Regions from separate parts of the Homo sapiens genome. Here region 1 is linked to region 2. Evidence: promoter capture Hi-C in 16 types of primary human blood cells and fetal thymus (Javierre and others, 2016). All regions are on one chromosome and are shown on one strand. Each heading gives the region's core, a stretch centred on a gene start or on the middle of the fragment in contact. The rest is flanking DNA. Distances are from core to core; before and after follow the strand shown.

Region 1 (4,216 bases), core at 1,629-4,128, 190 kb after region 2:
TAGGCATGAGTGTGAGTGTGGATAGGCATGAGTGTGAGTGTGATTCTGCATGAGTGTGAGTGTGGATCTGCATGAGTGTGAGTGTGGATAGGCATGAGTGTGAGTGTGGATAGGCATGAGTGTGAGTGTGGATATGCAGGAGTGTGAGTGTGGATAGGCATGAGTGTGAGTGTGATTCTGCATGAGTGTGTGTGGATATGCATGAGTGTGAGTGTGGATAGGCGTGAGTGTGAGTGTGGATATGCAGGAGTGTGAGTGTGGATAGGCAGCAGCATGAATGTGGATAGGCATGAGTGTGTGTGTGGATATGCATGAGTGTGAGTGTGGATAGGCATGAGTGTGAGTGTGATTCTGCATGAGTGTGAGTGTGGATTTGCAGGAGTGTGAGTGTGGATAGGCAGGAGCATGAATGTGGATAGGCATGAGTGTGAGTGTGATTCTGCATGAGTGTGAGTGTGGATAGGCATGAGTGTGAGTGTCATTCTGCATGAGTGTGAGTGTGGATAGGCATGAGCGTGAGTGTGATTATGCGTGCGTATGAGTGTGATTATGCATGGGTGAGTGTAAATATGCAGGTTTCAGTGCGAATACACATTGTCAGTGTGAGTGTGATTATTCATGAGTGTGTGACTATGCCTGCGTATGAGTGAATGCATGTGTCAGTGTGAATATGCATTACGGTTAGTGTGAGTGTGATTATTCATGGGTGTGAGTGTGTGCATGCACACCCCCAAAGGAACATGCATGGAGGGGAACACCAAATGTTCCACTGGGGCCTGGTGTGTATGGAGGAATCTCAAGGGTCCTTCCTGGAATCTTTGTCGTTCCTGGGCCTCCGAGTTGCTCTAGGTAGAGACGTGTTTTTCAGTGACCCAACACAGCCTCCAGCGCCCTGCTCCTCTGGAAGAGGAAGGCGTCCACACCCGGGCAGCCTCTCCAGCCTGGCCTCACCCAATATGTACCTGGGCTGCTTTGAACCCTCAGAATTTCTTCAAGGGGTTCTCCCATTGGCACCTGCTTGTCCATCCTTTTTTGTGGGTGGAGCTTCAGGAACAAGCTTTGCTCTGTTTCCCTGGGGTCCCTCTGGGGTCCAGGTCTCAGTGGCCCAGTGAGTCTCCACCACCCCTGCTGACACCAGGGAGCCCCTGGCCTGTACTGGCTCCCTGCCCCCTGCCCTGCCTTCTGGAACGTGTTGCCTCACTCAGCACCTGTGTCCTGTCTCACAACAGATTTTTTAAAATTGTGTTTTCTAAATGTTTTAATAGGGAGCTTTAAAAAAGACACAGAAGCAATGTAATGAGAGAGTGTGGTATCTGGATGCTCACATGCCCATCCCCCAGCTTCAATAATGAGCACCACCAGGCCCCCACTGGGTTATTTTAAAGCAAATTATTCCATATTTAAACTTTGGTCTTGGGACCCAGAAGAGTTCCTGCATAGATGTGGCCGATTCATGGCGCCTGTCTTCTTATGGCTCTGAGTGGCTCCAAACCTCTTTGCTGGTCTGGCTATGTATGTGTTGAAGAAATCAGTGTCTTTGCCTGTGGAACTTCCTGCCCTCTGCACGGTCGTTTGCGTCCATGCGGAGAGCCTCATGGTGCCCTTCACCCTGCACTTCTGCCCAGCAGTGCCACGAATCTGTGCTTAGCCCTGAGGCTGGGCTAAGCAGCCGCACACACCTGCTGTGTCACTGCACACACCCTTGGGATGGGGCTGCCGGCTGGGGCCACTAGCCTGGCTAAGCAGCCACACACACCTGCTGTGTCACTGCACACGCCACTGGGATGGGGCTGCCAGCTGGGGCCACTAGCCTGGCTAAGCAGCCACACACACCTGCTGTGTCACTGCACACGCCACTGGGATGGGGCTGCCGGCTGGGGCCACTAGCCTGGCTCCACCTTTATAAGGTTTCTCATGGGCTTCTCACCGTGGTGTGAGCAGCCACCAGGGGTGACGCTAGTCACCATTCTAACCCGCTGCAGCTACCTCCTGGCCTTCTTCCATTAGGGACATTTTCCTTGCCAATGATTTGATGACTTTGACAGACAGTTCACACAGAAAAGGCAGCCAACACCTGATCCTCACCCATGTAGCTCTGTCCACAGGGATGAGATGGTGCCGTGGTCCTTCCAAAGGGGCCGTGAGTTTTTTCTTCAGTGTTTTGTCCTTATGGTATCATTTAATTTGGTTTCAGTTCATTGCAGTCATACATGAGATGTATAAAGGTATAAATTGTATTCATTTCCTGGGGCTGTGTAACAAAGTGCCACAGACCAAATGACAGCTGTGTCTTGTCCCACAGCTCTGGAGGCTGGAAGCCCGAGGTCCAGGTGTCGGCAGGGCTGGCTCCTTCGTAGGCTGCGGGGGAGGCTCTGCTGTGGCCTGTCTCTGCGGCTTGCGATGGTCCTTCCTCACCATGTCTCTGCTCACAGTTATCCCCCTGTGCGTAGTTGGGCCGCAATCACTTCCTAAGAGGACATCAGTCAGATGGGATTAGGGCCCACCCTGAAGATTTCATTTTAACTTTATTGTGTCTTTAAAAATTTTCTCCAAACTATGGTCACATTCTGAGGTACTGGGGATGAGGACTTCAACATATGACTCTGGGAGACACAGTTTGGCCCCTAACGTAGACGTGGACTTTTGCGATGTGAATATCGTGCCATCCTCCTCTGGAGGGAGGCATCCTGGTTGCCTCCAGACTCTCTCGCTCAACCTGGTCATCCTGAGGGCTGTTTATTTTCCTGTATGACAAGATGTTCGAGATTCATCTTGCACATTTCCTGCTCCAGGTCTCACAGTGGCCATTTCTCTAGGCAGCCCTGTTTCCTTTAGTGGAAAATGGCATTTCATGGTCACAGTCGGGAGCTAAGGGGATTGCGGCTGCTAGGCAAGTCATTCCTTCTAAACCTTTCCTGTGGCCAAAGCTGAGAAATGCATTTATTTTTTGGGTTTTTTTGGCAAGAGAAAAATACATCATGAATTCATACTAATATTTCCCATTTAAATGTAAGATTACAGTGTTTGTGCAGCTTCTTTGATTTTTTAATTTCTATCTCTCTCCTCTTATGCTGAAAATCTTGGTTCCTAATGACATCTGCGTGATGACTTACCTGCTTTCTCTCACTGCACATGATCTGTGCGACTGTATTGGAACGTGGGGGAGCCAATTTGGCCATGAGATTTTTGCTCTGTCCCTGTCAAGAGGGAGAGTCTGTTTTCCCATGTTGTGCATCCGGACTGATCTTATTTGCTTTGTTCTGGAAGGTGCAGCAGACATGATGTGGTGTGACCTTGAAGGCAAGCCCTCAAGAGATCTTACAGTTCCTGTTTTCCACTCTCCAGGATCCTGAGACCGCCAGGCTATGAAGAAGGCTGTGATGAAAAGCTCTTTTATCCAGAGTGGGCCCAGCTTTTCCAGCTGCTCCAGCTGGGCCTGGTGCCTGGGCCTTCACCTGGCTGCAGGCAGGTGGGAAGCCCCTGTGAGGACAGCAAGGGAGCCGGTGTCGACCCCCATCATTGTGAGACGTATAAAGCATTGTTACTTGATGCCACCATGTTTCAGCATGTCTGTGGTGTAGCAAATAGAAAAGTGATTCAGACATTGGTACCACCAGTGGACTGGTGCCTTGACAAGCACCTGAGACATGTGACGTTGGCTTTGGGCCCAAGGGTGGGTAATGGCTGGGATGGGGAAAAGGGACCTTTGGAGGCTGGAGAAACAGTGACCTTTGTCACTTAGGAATAAGTGGCCAAACTGTCACCTATGGTAACTTGGAAGGTAAAAGATATACCTTATGAACGTGTAGGATCCGGTGGAAGGTCTTGCCTCTGGACAGAATGTCAAAAGTGCCCATCAGCTCCATCTCACACATGTGATAAGATACAGAAAGAAAGGTGAGCTGGGCCAGGTGCAGTGGCTCACGCCTGTAATCCCAGCACTTTGGGAGGCCGAGGTGGGCGGATCACGAGGTCAAGAGATCGAGACCATTCTGGCCAATATGGTGAAGCTCGTCTCTACGAAAAATACAAAAATTAGCTGGATGTGGTGGCACACGCCTGTAGTTCCAGCTACTTGGGAGGCTGAGGCAAGAGAATCGCTTGAACCTGGTTGGAGATTGTAATGAGCCGAGATTGCTCCACTGCCACTGCACTCCAGCCTGGTGACAGAGCAAGACTCAGTCTCAAAAAAAGAAAGAAAGAAAGAAAGAAAGAA
Region 2 (3,866 bases), core at 820-3,319:
CAGCCTGCTGGAGATGGGGGCGCTCTGCCTGGACTCGGAGATCATCCTGGGCTTCACCAGCCACCTCCTGCGGCGACGAGGCAAGGTGAGGGCTGTCGGGAGGGGGGCGGGCGGCGTAGGCGCCGTCCCGTTACTTTGCCGCGCGGCTCGCGCGGCCGGGGGTGCTGCGCCGGGAAGGAGACGGCAGGTCCGGAGCCGCGTCCCGCAGCCCGGGCTGGGACTCGCTGCCGCACTTTCCCCCATTAGCGTTGTCCAAGTCTCCCTCTGCCTTCAAGGCTGTGTCCCAACCGGACCCACCCGGAGGCTGTGGCTAGGGCGGAGAGCGCAGCGCAGGGATTCTCGGGCTCACCTTGCGCCTTGCTAGGATGGGCGAAGTAGGGGGTCGGGGCCCCTGACTGATCGTGAGCCCCCGAGGTGACTCCAGCCTTGTGCACCCCGTGTTCTGCGGATATGGGATGTGAGCTTGTGCTTCCCGAAGCGCCGCGGCGGTAGAAGCGCTGAAGTTGCGGGTGTGGCTGGCCAGGGGCGCAGGACCGGTGCTCCCGACCGCTGCGTGCTTCTGTGTTGCGTGTGTGGGTGGGGGGACGGGATATAGAGAGTGTGTGTCCCGGAGCAGTGGAGCGGCGGGAGGCGGTGCTGTCTGCCGGCAGTGCGGGGTGGGGTTTGGGTGTTGTCCTCAGTACCCAGATCCAGATGTGGGCTGACGCCCGTTTTCATTCTCCAGGCTGCGAAGAGACGGGTAGGGGAAGCGCTTCCGGCCCCCCAGGCTGGGTGGAAAGCGACTGCAGGCTTACGGATCTCAGAAAGAGTGGAGAGCCCCTGCCACTTTATTCCATACCCCCTTGCGTTTTCGAACCCCTAAGGTCATCAACGACCCGGAAAGCCGGGAGGGGATCACCCACCCCACTTTCTGGGGAGTGCGTGCGTGGGCGGGGAGGCTTATCCAAGTAAAAGGGGGTGGGCAAAACGGAAAGGGTCACTTTGACGTACTGAGTCTCTGCGAAGGCCTCACCGTATGTGCCGGCAGCCGCGTGTCCTGGTCTCCGCCGGGTCACGACCTTCGGAGTTTCCGAGTGCGCCTCAGGCCTGGGACGCGCGGCGCTGTCTCCCCAGTCTCGGAGCCGTGTGCGCAGCGGCCGGCAGGGGGCACTCGCGTCACGGGGAGCCCGCCCGCCGCGCCCGCCTGGCTTGACCCGGGCTTTGGGGCTGACCCGGAGCCTGGCCCGGAGCTGCCTGCGGCCGCGGATGCCGGCGACATTTGGGGCCCGGCTAGGCACAGAGCAACTGGTCGCCAGGGAAGGGCGGGGGGGCGGCCTCCCAGCCGGAGACAAACAAGCAATTAATTCCGGAGCTGAGTTCCCATCTGCCAGGCCTGCTGACAACAGGTCCGGCGCACGCCCGCAGGACCTCCCGCTTCCCGGGCGGCACGGCGCGCACACCCACTTGCGGGCACACGCGCGGCTGTAAAGACACGTGCCGTTCGCAGACGCGCCGAGGCACAGATACGCCGGCGCGGTCGCTGCCCGGCTCGAGGCGCACACCGCGGCGACACTAACCCACGCGCGACAGTTAGACCTAAAGTGGCCCGCGACACGCAGAGTACGCTGGGCTTGCTGGAAAGGCGCCTGGGAGTCTCGGGGCCGGGGTCCCGCCCCTTCCTCGGCCCACCTCGCCGTGGGCCTTGGGCAAGAGCGTCCCCTCCGCAGCCTCAGTTTTCCCGCCTGTAGAGGGAGGGGCGTCGGCGCCTCCTGGGAGACGCGCAGCCCTGGTGTCCCGGGAGAGGGGCGGGAGGCGCATGCGCGCGCGCAACTAGATCCTCGCCGCCGCCCCCAGCGCCCCTCCCCGGGGCAGGGACTCACCTAACAGGTTGGGGTCCTTGGAGTGCGCGGGGCCGCGTGGGGAAGCGGGGACCCTACCCCCCCCACGCGCCGCCCAGCACTGGGCAAGGGCGGGGCACTCTCTGGGCTCCCGCCCCTCGCCGCCCGCCCCGGGAGCCCGAGCCCCGCCCTTCCCCGGCCCCGCCCTCGCCTCCCGAGCGCGCCCACCGGAGCCACCGCGCTCCTCGCGACACTCGCAGGCTCTGCGAACTTCCGAGCGGCTGGGCCGGGCCATGGGGGCGCCTCGGGGCCGGATCACGTAGCCGCGGCGCCCCCGGAGAGCCAGCGTGGCCGGGAGCGCCTGCCGGGCTCTTCCCGCGCCCCGGCCATGGTCGGCCGCGGCGTCCCTCTGTGCGCTGCGCAGCCCGCGGTACGCGCGGCCCGGCCTGGAGAGGGAGGCGGGCGGCGGGGGCCCGGGACGGCGAAGATACTCGCGGTGTGCGCTGGATCCCTGGGGGCCGGGCCTCCTGCTGAGGGTAGCGGACCCGCAGGCGGGACCTCCGGGGATGGAGGGAGTGGGTGAGCGCCAGGGTCGTGCCCAGGGCTCCTAACTTTGGCAAGAGCGTCACGCTGGGGCAGGGCGCGCAGGGGTCTGGATCCGACGGACGTCCCAGGCTCACTGTCCGCTTCCGCCCCCACACCCTGCAGGTGGCCGAGGGCGGCCCGGCCCGCGAGCCGCCGCCGCTGCTGGAGGTGTCCCCCCGAAAGAGGCTACCCGCCGGGCCCGACCAGGACCCATGCGGCAGCCGCCCTGCTCCCGAAGGCGCCGGGGCCGGCCCAGAGCAGGGCCACTCGGCCGGCGGAGGCGGCTGGTGCCGCCACTGCCACACGAAGCTGGTGGAGCTCAAGCGACAGGCGTGGAAGCTGGTCAGCGGGCCCGGGACCACCCTCCGGGTAAGTGACACTTCCTTAGGCCGACCCCTCCGAGCAGGGCCACGCCGAACTTGGGTAGAACTTGGGGCTTGGAGGGAAGCAGGGTTCCACTCCTTCCCTGCTGCTGTTTCCACAAAGAGTTATCAGCCAGGACTTCCCTTCTGCGGGCCTCAGTTTCCCGGTCTGTAACACCATGTGTGAGCTAGGGAGCTCAGCCCGAGGGGCCCTGCTGCCTCGGATGGGAGGGGCCTGGGCTGGCGTTCCTCCCCCAGCCCAGATGTCCCACAGCTGGAACGCAGGTTTGTGTGGGAGGAGGAGGGGAGAGAGCGGATGGCAGGGACTCCACCCAGGGCGGGACAGCTCCAGCCCTACCAGCAGGGAGAGGTTATTTGGTGCATTGTGGCCCTTGGGGCACCTGGGCCCCCAGCCAGGTGTCTGGAAATTACATACCTGGGGCCGGGGGGCCTGGCAGGTGAAAGGGTGGGCCACAGCAGCTGGGGGGTCCCTGCCTACTCCTCTCCCAGCCTCAAGGATAAGAACTGTTGTCCCATACCTCCTGGGATAGACTGAGGCAGTGGCCGCCCATGGGGAATTGAGTCGGGGCCCTCTGGGTTCCCCAGGCTCCAGCCCCAGGGGCAGGTGCTTGCAGGGGAGGGGTTCTCCTGGATTTCCAGCCAGTGGGCCTGCCGGCTTTGGAGGGAGCAGGGACCATTGTTCCAGGAACAATGCATGCTGGAAGTTTGCAAAGGCTGGGGGCGGGTGGGGGTCTCCAGAGGAAGCCCGCTGCCGGGCCTTCAGCCTTTATGAAAGAGTTCCTGGGAAGTCCGCATAATCCCCATTGAATCTAAATATAGTTCTCTAAGGGCTGTGGGGGTTGGAGTGAGCTGAGACCCTGACTGCCCTGTCTGGGGCAGGGCAGGGTGGGGCAGGGTACCAGTCTGGTTTCTGTCCTGGGCACCGTCTCCGGGCTCTCTGGAGTCTCGGCGAGGGATAGGATTGCTGTAGCCTCTCTCTGGCTCAGGCCAGGCGCCTGTGGGCCTGTCCTGGGGTGGGGCTGGACCCGCCCTGTCCTCTGCTCTGGACAGGCTGCAGCCTTGGCCATACTCTGTGCCCCAG

What was found. The method cuts DNA at HindIII sites, captures the fragments that hold promoters and counts their contacts. A CHiCAGO score of 5 or more calls a contact.
Region 1: a fragment that was not itself captured here is called in contact with the fragment with the promoter of KIF26A in region 2 in 1 of 17 cell types (endothelial precursors); the score reaches 5.5 in endothelial precursors.

What each region holds. Positions count from the first base shown.
Region 1 is chr14:104,325,332-104,329,547 of GRCh38, forward strand. No RefSeq gene overlaps it. Among named protein-coding and RNA genes, the nearest start is that of LINC02691, 100 kb to the left of the region's middle. The HindIII fragment of the contact is 3,647 bases long and covers 1,056-4,216 here.
Region 2 is chr14:104,136,518-104,140,383 of GRCh38, forward strand. It overlaps KIF26A (kinesin family member 26A), which reads left to right and starts at 2,070. Exons shown (of 15, transcript NM_015656.2): 1 at 2,070-2,247; 2 at 2,526-2,771. The coding sequence starts at 2,206. It overlaps KIF26A-DT (KIF26A divergent transcript), which reads right to left and starts at 2,112. Exons shown (of 3, transcript NR_158217.1): 1 at 1,013-2,112; 2 at 350-725. RefSeq lists enhancers at 1-660, 661-1,372 and a silencer at 1,069-1,238. The HindIII fragment of the contact is 14,398 bases long and covers 1-3,866 here.